Linked DNA regions of Homo sapiens: regions 1 and 3 are each linked to region 2. Evidence: promoter capture Hi-C in human tissues and cell types (Jung and others, 2019). All regions are on one chromosome and are shown on one strand. The core of a region is centred on a gene start or on the middle of the fragment in contact, and the rest is flanking DNA. Distances in the headings are between cores, read along the strand shown. Region 1 overlaps DIS3L2 (DIS3 like 3'-5' exoribonuclease 2). Region 2 holds the start of DIS3L2 (DIS3 like 3'-5' exoribonuclease 2). Region 3 overlaps DIS3L2 (DIS3 like 3'-5' exoribonuclease 2).

What was found. Contacts are between HindIII fragments. The study calls those that stand out against the background at their distance.
Region 1: a contact is called between a fragment that was not itself captured here and the fragment with the promoter of DIS3L2 in region 2, in 4 of the 25 tissues and cell types used here (aorta, hippocampus, lymphoblastoid cells and 1 more).
Region 3: a fragment that was not itself captured here is called in contact with the fragment with the promoter of DIS3L2 in region 2 in 2 of the 25 tissues and cell types used here (bladder and mesenchymal stem cells).

The regions. Positions count from the first base shown.
Region 1 is chr2:232,071,928-232,076,134 of GRCh38, forward strand. The region is part of intron 5 of DIS3L2 (DIS3 like 3'-5' exoribonuclease 2); the gene reads left to right. Among named protein-coding and RNA genes, the nearest start is that of MIR562, 99 kb to the right of the region's middle. RefSeq lists a silencer at 3,539-3,739. The HindIII fragment of the contact is 9,302 bases long and covers 1-4,207 here.
Region 2 is chr2:231,960,031-231,963,980 of GRCh38, forward strand. DIS3L2 (DIS3 like 3'-5' exoribonuclease 2) reads left to right here and starts at 1,683. Exons shown (of 21, transcript NM_152383.5): 1 at 1,683-1,735. RefSeq lists an enhancer at 1,561-1,650 and a silencer at 1,781-1,940. The HindIII fragment of the contact is 18,963 bases long and covers 1-3,950 here.
Region 3 is chr2:232,049,797-232,053,708 of GRCh38, forward strand. The region is part of intron 5 of DIS3L2 (DIS3 like 3'-5' exoribonuclease 2); the gene reads left to right. Among named protein-coding and RNA genes, the nearest start is that of DIS3L2, 90 kb to the left of the region's middle. The HindIII fragment of the contact is 4,683 bases long and covers 9-3,912 here.

The DNA of each region.
Region 1 (4,207 bases), core at 106-2,605, 110 kb after region 2:
GTGGTGTCACTTAGAAGACCAGGGAATTTGTGGAGCTCTAAGATTGCTTGTAAAAAGGTAAGTGAAGGATTTGGTGACTGGTATGTTAAGCAGTGGGAAGAGTCAAATGTAGTTGCAAGGTTTTCAGCTTGAGTGGCCTGGAAGAAGTAGTAGTGGTGTTTGAAGAAAGAGAAGAACAGGAAAGGGAAATGCTTTGAGGGGAAGGACCAGAGTGCTTTTGATGTTTTGAGTTTCAGGTGGCAGTGGCCTTCATGGAGTTTGTGTTGCACTGGGAAAGATATAATAATATTAAATAAAATACTACATGTAGCATACTCAATGGTGATATGTGCTGAAGAGAAAAAAAATAAGGAAAGGAAATATGATTTTGGGGGATAAGGATTGAGATTTTAAATAGGGTGATGAAAGAAGACCTCATTGAGAGCATGACTTTGGGAAGAAACAAAGGAAGAGAGGAAGCTGTCCTTATGGAGATCTTGGGGAATGGCAGTGCGTTCCTAGTGTGCTCAAGGAATAGCAAAGGGGCTGAGGTAGAGAATTGTCAGAGACGAGGTCGGAGGGATCCGGGGTGGGGGTGCAGTCAGGTAGAGCCTTTACATCATAGGTAGGATTCTGTTTCTGGCTCTGATTGAAGTGGTAAGGCTTAGAGTGGTAGGAGTAGAGAACTGACATATCACTTATGTTTCATAGGCTCACTCTGTTATGTTGGGAATAGACTGAAAGGAGGCAAGGGTAGAAGCAGGGAGACCCCTTACATGGCTATTGCTTACTTCCAGGATGGAGATGATGGAGACTAAACCAGGATGGTGGCAATGAAGGTAGAGCTGACAAGATCAGCTGACAGTTGGGATGTGGGGTGTGTGTGTGTGTGTGTGTGTGTGTGTGTGTGTGTTGCTGTGTGTTTGAGAGAAGGGGAGGTTGAGGTGGGGTGGGGAAGGAAGTCGAATGATTGATTGATAAGGACTGCACAGGGATTTTGGGCTGAGTAATTGGAAGAATGGAGAGAGATTGTTCATTCTTTGGCTGTTAACTAGATAAAAGGTACGTTTGGATTAGCTACCCTAAGCAAACGAAGTTCCCAACAAATACGCCCTTGAAAATGTCTGTAAATATGTCTTTTAAATGATAGTGCCCATAGTTAAATTTTATAATGAAAAGCTTATTGGCAAGCCTTGTCAAGAGCTCCCTGTGGAAATATCAGTTGCTTTTCTTGGCTTCAAGGTGTTTCCTGAACAGTGTATTATCCTTTGTCCCGAGTGTGCCATTAAGGGATTTGAAAGTTTGTTAAAACATGTGTGGCAAGTGAGTGCTGTCATTTAAGCCTAGCCAGGGAAGCCAAGAAATGAAAAGCAGCTCTTTGCTGGACTTCCTGACATGCTTTAGCTCTGAATCCGAGGCTCAGGTAGTGGGGTGGACAGGGCATTATTTCCTGTGCACAAAGTGTCAGTGGACACAGTTCTCAAGCCATTTCCGCGGAAAATGTCTGTGGACATGGGTATATGTGAATCTTTTGGAAAAACTCCATAATACCAAGTTGATAGCAACCCCCTGCCTAAGGAGAATGTAATAGGGTTTATTTGCTGCAACAGAATTTTCCAGTGCTAATATGGACTTGCTCTTTTTATAAGATTTAAAACAGCACTCTTTAATGATGGTCTTTGAGCTCGAGGAAAGGTTTTTTCTATATCAGTAAACAGGGAAGCTATGAAATGTTTCATGCTTGGAGTTCGGGTGAGCCAGCATAATGGAAAGGTTACCTGGCACTTTTATTTAGGATTCCATTAGAATTTTTTGGTTACAGGGACTTTTTCTGTTTGCTTTTCAATTTTGAAATACGGTATATTGATTTTAAAAGGAAGGGAAGAAAAACCTAATGCACATCAAACAGTTTTGAAGTGACCAGTTTCTTCTCTAGATCCTGGTAGGTTTGAATTGCTGTTTGCAACTGATCTAACTTACTACACAGCGTAGACGAGATTTCCAGCTTTCTGAGTGACAGATTGCTACTTCACAACTCTGGAAAGATCAGGAAATGTCCCTCTGAGGTGTTGCCAGATCTAGGCTTTCTTTCCTTCATCTGGACATTTGTGACTTTTCTTGCTAAGACACTTCTTTTCAAGTTGGGGAGCAGTTAACTTTATGGTTATATTTGCATTTATATTGAAAACTGGAGTTATAATTTAGATATAAAGGCATAGAATTATTTTAGAAAAATGAATTTATTTCAGTGCCTCCCAATTTTATTCATTTGCATTTATTTATCTTGTATCTCTTACAGTGATAAGTTTCAATTTTGATGAAATAATTGTTGACTATTTCCTGGTTTCCAGACACATTGTGTTAATGGAGGACATTGCTGTATCATGAAGTATCTTATGGACATGCATTTTAATTTAGCTGGCTCTTGCTGCTTAGTATTTATTTCTCACTATTTTTTGCAAATGCTTCTTTTACAGCTGATTCAAGTCTTTCTCATTCTCTTCAGAAGAAGAGAAAAGAGAATCAATATTTACTGAGCACATTCTATGTGCCATGGATCATGGGAGACTCTCAGAAATATAAAAATGAATGTAATGTGGTTTACTGTCTAGTGGAAGAAAAAATATGCAAACAAATAAATGAAATATAGCCCCATCAAGGAACCTTTTTTTTTTTTTTTTTTTTGCTTTTGAGAAAGGATCTCGCTCTGTTACCCAGGTTCACCACGTGAGCAGTGACACAATCACAGCTCATTGCAGCCTTGACTTCCTGGGTCCCAATGATCCTTCCTCCTCAGCCTCCCGAGTAGCTGGGACCACAGGCGCATGTCACCATGCCTGGCTAATTTTTTATTTTTGGTAGAGACGGAGTTTTGCCGTGTTGCCCAGGCTGGTCTTGAATTCTTGAGCTCAAGTGATCTGCCTGCCTCGGATTCCCAAAGTGCTGAGATTACAGCTTGAGCCACCACACCTGGCCGAGGAACCGTATAGTGAAAGAATGGCTAAGGACTAGCAGTGCTGCAGAGGAAGGCAACAACATTTAGGCAGAGAGAGAGAAGTTAGCAGATAAACATTCACAGAAGAGCTGGGTCTTGAATTTTGATTATTTGCTAGGCCAACAAAAGGTTCAGAGGCATTTCATGCAATGTGTGTCAGGGATGGGAGCTGTATGGGTGAGGTTCACTCTGAATCTCTTTGTTTTCAACTCCTGTGGATGATTTCCTTCAGTGTCCAGGACTAAGAGAATTGCATTTAGAGTCCTAGACCTGTAGGCACATTACAACTCTGCCATTTAGTAGCTGTGAGATTGTGACATGTCTGAAGTCATTTCCTCCTCTGTGAGATGGAGATACTCATTCTCCTGTGCATCACCCAGGGTCATTGGGTGGATCCAATCAGTTAATGTGTATAAAAGCACAGGGACGATTGTGCAATAGAATGTGAAGATTCATAATAAAAACTTCAGTGTTTCTTGTGATTCCCATATCCATAGTTATGTTTAAATTCTCTCTACTTTGCTCACTCCTATTCCTTGTTGAAACCCCATTATTTGAGTCTTCCCCAAGGGCTTTATCCTCAGGTTCTCTTTTCAGTAGACACTTGGCCCTGAGTCACCTTTGCTTAACTGTCAACCCATATTATGGGTAACCCTCTAATCTGATTTCTGTCCTCCAAGACACTTCTAGTCTCCAGACCTACATTTCCAGCTGCCACCTGGATGTTCCTCATCATCTTGCACTTCTCGAGTCATCTGAAGGCTACATTTGTTTCCTTATATGTAACTGCTCCTAATTTTTCTGTTTCTATTGTCTGAGTTCAGGACCTTGCAATTATTTTTGACCCTTCCTTCCCCTTCCCCTTGCTTCAGGTTGTTCTTCAGGATGTAAAGGCTCCCAACTGAGTGTACTGTTATTATTAAATCCTTCACTTTACTTAAGCTCCTACCATGTTCCAGGCACCTGTGCTAAGAGTTTTTCATTTATTATCTTAGTTCCCACAATAGTTTTGTGATATTAGACACTCTTGTCCCCATTTTAAAGATAATGAAATTGAGATTCAAAGAAACTGCTTTTCCAAGGTGGCATTGCAGGTAAGTGCAGAGCCATGACTCAAGCCAGTTGTGTTGTCCCTAGAGTTTGTGCTCTGAATCACTCCACTCTGCTTTCACACTTCACTGACTTGACAGTAAAGTCCCAACTCATTAAGTTGGCATTTAGGGCTCTTGACAT
Region 2 (3,950 bases), core at 433-2,932:
AAGCAAACATCGATTGAGGCCTGTGTGTGTGGCAGGTACTGCAGATGCAAAGTTTTCCACCTTCATGGAGCTCATAGTTACTAAGGGAAACCCTGAATTTTCTTAGACTACTGCAACGCACTGGCCGGGTGCGGTGACTCACACCTGTAATCCCAGCACTTTGGGACAAGATGGGCGGAAGAGTGAGACCATCCTGGCTAACACGGTGAAACCCCGTCTCTACTAAAAATACAAAAATTAGCCGAGAGTGGTGGCACGCGCCTGTAGTCCCAGCTACTCGGGACTGAGGCAGGAGAACTGCTTGAACCCAGGAGGCGGAGGTTGCAGTGAGCCGAGATCGCACCATTGCACTCCAGCCTGGGCGACAGAGCGATAGTCCGTCTCAAAAAAAAAAAAAAAAAAAAAAAGAGAAATATAGGCACAATTTAATGCATCTCTTTTCCTTTTTCAATATGGAGCATACGGTGGTTCAAGCATCTGTCCACATTGTATTCCCGAAGTTTGATCCCTACCCTGCCCTGCCCTCCCGTCTTTCCTTCCCTCTCTCTTTTTTTTTTTCTGGAGTGCAATGGTGCGATCTCGGCTCACTGCAACCTCCGCCTCCGGGGTTAAAGCGATTCACCAGCCTCAGCCTCCTGAGTAGCTGGGATTACAGGCATGTGCCACCACGTCTGGCTAATTTATTATTTTTAATAGGGACGGGGTTTCTCCATGTTGATCAGGCTGGTCTCGAACTCCCGACCTCAGGTGATCCGCCCGCCTCGGCCTCCCAAAGGGAAGTTTGATTTTTCTATGGTCACCAATGGACACTTGATCTCCATAGCTTGAGAATGGCGGCCATCCCCTCACTGGCATTCTTTCCTCTTGTGCTCTCCCGAACGTTCTGGCTGCTCTTTGGATTTCCTTTTCCTTTGCTCACATCTACAATATTGGTGTTTCCTAGGTCCCGTACTTAACGATTGTTTCCTCTCAACACGCTTCCCTGGGCGGGCTGAACTGTCGGGGGCTTTCTCGGCTGCGCTTCCTCTCTCACCTGAAACCCTCTTCCCAACCCTTTATACTAGGTCGACGTCTCCAACATCAGCTGCTCCCCACCCGTGTCTGGGTGGGCCCCTTGGGCAGGCTCCCCTAGTCTCCTTTCCTTCGATCATCCCCACGTGCAGGACGTCATCTGCTTGCTCTGCCATCAGCCTCACATCCTGAGGGCAGGGACCATGCGGGGGTTGTCCATCTCTGTATCCCCAGTGCCAGCACTGCACCTCGCCCCAAGCAGTTGTCCAATAAATGAGCAGTGAGTAAATGAAAGAATGAGCAAAGCCTTGTAACAGGAAAGGGGCCGGCGGCGTCTGCCGTGCAAGACCTGGCCCAGTGGAGCAGAGCCTGGAGGTTCAGGAGCCGGGTCTGGAAGGCTCCTTCCGGTGGAAGAGGGGCCCGGAGCCAGCCGGCGCCTGGCACAAGGCGTCTCAGAGGCCGCCCACTGGGAGCCAACCGTTGCAGCCAGTTGTCCCCGCGAGCGAGGCCGGAGAAGGCGCGGCGGCCCCTGGCCTGGCCATTTCGCCCTTGTCGCAGCTGAACCGCCGACTACGAGCTCCTGCACCGCGCACACACCCCGCGCGCTTCGCTCTCGGCCTCGCCCGGCCACCGTCGCTCTCTAGAACGCCGCGCCCGTGACCCGGAAGAGCATTCTCCTTAGCAACTGCGGGACTGCGGCGGCGCCGGCCTCCGGGGAGAAACGGTGAGGCCCTCACTCGCCTGCCCCCTGCACCGCCTAGTGCTGCACGACCCCCTCGGGACCGACCCGGGGTCTGGCCTCTGGGGGGCTCCGCGGCGCTTCGCCCGGCACCTGTGGTGGCGGCCCGGGACGAGCGTCTTCCGCCTCTGGCGTTGCTCCCCGGCCCACGCGTCTTCCCTGTCCCGCATCTCCCTCAATGTCCCCAGCTCCCCACTCTCCGCTCCTGACCGACCCGGCCTCCCAGGCCGCGCTTATAGCGCCGGGGCCCTTGTAGCCTAGGATGGCGTGAGGGGAGCGAGACCAGAATTAGAGCCTGTTGCTGTAGAGAGGACGCCTCCCGAGGCTCGGGTCACCTGTGGACGCGTTCTCTAGGGTCTTGATCGAGATGTTCAGGACTGGCAGGGATGGGGAGCCTCGGGAATCTTGAAGGGCAGCCGCTTAATTATAACATGTCCTTGACGTTTGCGCTTTCCACAGTGATACACTTTATCTCCTTTATTGATCATAGAGAGTTTTTTTTTTTAATAAACTTTTAGATATGGGGGATACGCATGCAGGTTAGTCACATGGGTATATTGCACCCAGGTATTGAGCATAGAACCCAGTAGGTAGTTTTTCAACCCACATCCCCCATCTCTCCCCTCCTTCCAGTAGTCTACAGTGTCTACCGTTACCTTTTTTTTTTTTTTTTGAGACGGAGTCTCATTCTGTCGCCCAGGCTGGAGTGCAGTGGCGCGATTCGGCTCACTGCAAGCTCCGCCTCCTGGGTTCATGCCATTCTTCTGCCTCAGCCTCCCGAGTAGCTGGGACTACAGGCGCCCGCCACCCCGCCCGGCTAATTTTTTTGTATTTTTAGTAGAGACGGGGTTTCACCATGTTAGTCAGGATGGTCTCGATCTCTTGACCTCGTGATCCGCCCGCCTTGGCCTCCCAAAGTGCTAGGATTACAGGCGTGAGCCACCGCACCCGGCCGACTGTTCCCATGTTTATGTCCATGTGCGCTCAATGTTTCTACTCCCACTTGTAAGTGTGCTCAATGTTTAGCTCCCACTTATAAGTGAGAACGTGTGGTGTTTAGTTTTCTGTTCTTGTGCTAATTCGTTTAGGATTATGGCCTCCAGCTCCATCTGTGCTGCTGTAAAGGACATGATATCTTCCTTTTTTGTGGCTGCATAGTATTCCATCCTGTACATCCACATTTTTTTTTTCCAGTCCACCATTGATGGTCACCTAGGTTGATTCCGTGTGTTTGCTATTGTGAATAGCTCAGCCGTGAACATACAACTGCATATGTCTTTTTGGTATAATGGTCTGTTTTCCTTTGGTTATATACCCAACAGTGGGATTGCTGGGTGAAATGGTGGCTCTTTAAGTTCTTTGAGAAATCTCCAAACTGCTTTCCACAGTGGCTGAACTAATTTACATTCCCACCAACAGTAGTTTAAATGTTCCCTTTCCAAGGGAGCCTAATGAGGATCTGTTGTTTTTTGACTTTTTGATAATAGCCATTCTGACTGGTGTGAGATGGTATTTCATTGTGGTTTTGATTGGCATTTCTCTGATAATTAGTCATGATCATGTTTTCCATATATTTGTTGGCTGCTTGTATGTCGTGGTTTTTTCTTTTTGTATTTCTTCTGAGAAGTGTTCATGTCCTTTGGCCATTTTTAAAAATGGGCTTATTTGTTTTTTGCTTGTTGATTTAAGTTCCATAGGGATTCTGGATATTGGACCTTTGTCAGATGCATAGTTTGTGAATATTCTCGCCCATTTTGTAGGTTGTCTGTTTAATCTGTTGATAATTTCTTTTGCTGTGCAGAAGCTCTAGTTTAATTAGTTCCAACTTGTCAATTTTTGTTTTTGCTGCAGTTGCTTATGGGGACTTAGCCAAAAATTTGCCAAGGTCAGTGTCAAGAAGTGTATTTCCTGGGTTTTCTTCTAGGATTTTTATAGCTTGAGGTCTTTTATTTTATTTTGAGACAGGGTCTCACTGTCACCCAGGCTGGAGTGCAGTAGCGTGACTGCAGCTCACTGCAGCCTCGATTTCCCAGGCTCAAGTGATCCTCCCACCTCAGCCTCCCGAGTAGCTGAGACTACAGGTGCGCACTACCACGTTCGGCTAATTTTTGTATTTTTTATGGAGATGTGGTTTTTACCATGTTGTCAGGCTGGTCTCTGACTCCTAGGCTCAAAAGATCTGCCTGCCTCAGTTGCCCAA
Region 3 (3,912 bases), core at 1,100-3,599, 90 kb after region 2:
TATGTTATTTCTACATTTGACACTTTGCGTTGGGCACAGTGCCACTTCTGTGTGCCTAAGCTGGATTTGTGTCCTCATGGTATTTAGGGGCATAGACATATTTCTGTAAGCGTACACATCCTTATTTTGTGCAGACTTTTCTTTCATGCTCCTGTTTCTTTTCCTTTTGCTTGTAGCCAGACTTTTTGGACTCAGTGTCTATTTCTCACTAGTGATGTGGATTCTGCAGTTTGTTTTCTACCCTAGCTTTCTACTAAAGTTGTTCTTTTCATGGTTGTCACTGATTTCCTACCTGTTTTCATTGGTTGTTTGCTTAGTTTTCATTTTCCTGGAGCTTTCTACAGTGATTTAAGACCATTGATTTCCCTTTTCTTTGTAATAACCTCTCATTAGCTCCATGTCCCAGTTCTGTTTCTTCTATTCAGTATGTTTGTTTTTTATTGATTTCTCTCTTTTCTCCACTTAGTTGTAGACATTTCTTTTTTCTTTTTTTGAGACGGAGTCTCGCTCTGTCGCCCAGGCTGTAGTGCAATGGCGTGATTTTGGCTCACTGCAACCTCTGCCTTCCGGGTTCAAGTGATTCTCCTGCCTCAGCCTCCTGAGTAGCTGGGATTATAGGTGCACCACCATGCCCAGCTAATCTTTGTATTTTTTTTTTTTTTTTAGTAGACAGGGTTTCATCATGTTGGCCAGGCTCTCGAACTCCTCACCTCAGGTGTTCCACCCACCTCGGCCTCCCAAAGTGTTGGGATTACAGGCGTGAGCCACTGCACCCGGCCGGTTGTAGACATTTCTTAAGCTTCTAGCCTATGTCCTCTTTTCTTTCTTTACGTTCTTTTCCAGATAGATCTTTATGTAGTTTCCTAGTTTAAACTGACACTTTTATTTGGAGGATTTCCACCATCCATTTGTTTATTCGACATTTTTTGATTGGCAGCTTTGTACGTGGCACTGGCATGGGTCCTGGAGATACAAAGATGAACACACTTTGACTACCCTCGATGAATTTGGAGACCATTGCAGAAATCAGATGTGTAGACAGAGAGCCACATTGCTGTGTGATATGTTTTAACAGAGATCTGAGCACAGAGATGAAGGAGGTGTATGGAGTGGGAGACAATGGCTCTGCCTAAGGGAACTTAAATTTCTTGTAAGAGTGACATTTCAATTGCAGTTGGAAAGGAGAGTTTGCGAAATGAAAATTAAGGGGAGAGGAGAATATTTAAGGCAAGGGAACTGTATGTTTAAAGGAAGAGACGCATGCATTCCTCCCAAGTCTCAACTGGTAAGGGCAGGGGTTTTGTCTTATTTTATTTATATTCATGGTGTTAAGGTAACAACAGGAACCTTTCAAGTTAGATTGGGGTCTCCATTCTAGATCCTTTGTTTACTGGCTCTGGGCTTTAGGGGCCTCACCTATAAATGGTATAAGTTTTTGATAAGGATTAATGAACTGTAATCACCTAAAATAGTGTCTGACAAGTAGTAGGTACTTTTAAAACGTGAGTTTTATTCTTTCATTTTCCTTCTATCTAGCCACCTGTTAACTGGCATACAGTAGGCAGGGAATAGATACTTTTTGAACAATTTCAGTGTTTCCAAACTTCAGAAAAAGGATAGGATTGTTTATTGTGATGTAAACTTTTACGACTAGGAAGACCAAAAACACAGGATGAATTCACTAAATTTAGTGATCTTACAAAGCAGAAACTTGTTTTCTTAAGAACTAGCTTCGGCTGGGCGCGGTGGCTCACGCCTGTAATCCCAGCACTTTGGGAGGCCGAGGCGGGCGGATCACGAGGTCAGGAGATCGAGACCATCCCGGCTAAAACGGTGAAACACCGTCTCTACTAAAAATACAAAAAATTAGCCGGGCGTAGTGGCGGGCGCCTGTAGTCCCAGCTACTTGGGAGGCTGAGGCAGGAGAATGGCGTGAACCCGGGAGGCGGAGCTTGCAGTGAGCCGAGATCCCACCACTGCACTCCAGCCTGGGCGACAGAGCGAGACTCCGTCTCAAAAAAAAAAAAAAAAAAAAAAAAAAAAGAACTAGCTTTGATTGGAAGAGAAAACAAAGCAATGAATCAAGTCAGCTCTGCTGGATGTTTGCACATGGGAGCTGGATAATTCTCCCCCCAAATATAAAAGATTGGATATATTGTTTATAAATGTCTTCTATAATGTTTCTTCATTAATGTTTATAGTTGATTTTGGATTTGTTTTCATCTTAATTTCCTTTTTTTTTTTTGAGATGGAGTTTCCTTCTGTCACCCAGGCTGGAGTGCAGTGGTGCGATTTTGGCTCACTGCAACCTCCGTCTCCTGGTTCAAGCAGTTCTCCTGCCTCAGCCTCCCAAGTAGCTGGGATTACAGATGCCCATCACCATGTCTGGCTAATTTTTTGTATTTTTAGTAGAGACGGGGTTTTGCCGTGTTGGTCAGGCTGGTCTCGAACTCCTGACCTCAGGTGATCCACCTGCCTCGGCTTCCCAAAATGTTGGGATTACAGGCGTGAGCCACTGTGCCCAGCCTCCTTCTTAATTTCTTTTTGTTTACAGAGTTAAATAAACTTGATTGTAGATTTCAGTTGATCCAGGATGGTCTGTTTTCTCCTTGGGGTCTCAAATACAGTAGTTTAACTATTTCTCAGTTAGTACCAGCTCAGACTGGAGTCTTTTAGGTTTTTATTACCAATTACATTCTTATTCCTTTGTATGACATAAAGGCCTTCCATGACCTGCCCTCTTCCCTGTTGGGCAACTCTGTTTCCTTTAGCATACCCTTAATCTTGGGCACCACATACAGAAGGTCTTTGAATGCACCATGCAGCTGCATGCTTACATTTTCTTTTTATACACAGTTTCCTTTGCTTGCAGTTCTCTGCATGTGTCTCTTCCTCTTTCCCCTACTCATCTTTCTAGACTGGTTTCACAGGTTGTTGCCTCTGGGAAGCCTTTCCTTCATATCTTTACAATTGTTATTCAATGCTGCTGTTTTATTGAATTGAAAAATCTTTAGATGTTTTTCACATATTATAGGGCCCTTTATATTGTCTCTGTTCACATTCCAGTGGCATTTGATGTTTTCTTCTGGGTGGTATTTGCATGACCTACTATGAATGACTCCCACTATGTGATGATGTTAAAAATGGCAAGTGCCGTTTGTTGTTGAGTACCTGTTCTGCGTTAGGCACTCTTCTAGGGCTTTGATAACACTGCATGTTGCAGACATAGATTTCTTTGTGAGATGGACTGGACTATAGTATTTCTTTTTCATTCTTCATGTGCTTATTTCTAAATAGACCAGAGCATATTGATTTAATTCATGAGGAGACAATGTCTGGTAACAGATAAAAAGTCAGTTCCTAAATCCAAAGAAAATGAGTAAATTCTTGAACTTGAGTTTTTGTTTATACAACATCTAAACTTCATTTTCAAGGTACTTCTGTTAAGACTATACAGAATTTAGAAAATATGTTGGTGTCAGTTTTATTATTATGTTAAAAGTAGTTTAAAAGTATACTTTTTAAAATAAAAGCAAGGAGAATACTTACATGTCTAAAAGGAAACACTGTTTTTCTATACTACTCTCAACACTGCTGACATCAACTGCATGGATTTTCCACACCAACCAGTTCTCCTCAGACTCTAATTGGGTGTCCTACATTTTAACTCAATCCTGACACTACGCAGAGTTAGCACAGACCCCACAGGTTAAGGGCTTATACCACAAGACTGCCCTCTACCCAGGTGCCAGTCACAGTCCGGGCTGCCTGTACTTCTGACTGGCTATTATTTGGGGATTCCCATGGCCCCCTCAGGTTCAGTAATTTGCTATAATGGTTTATAAAACTCAGGGAAGCATTGACTTATGTTTACCAGTTTATTATAAAGGATATTGCAAAGGATGCAGATGA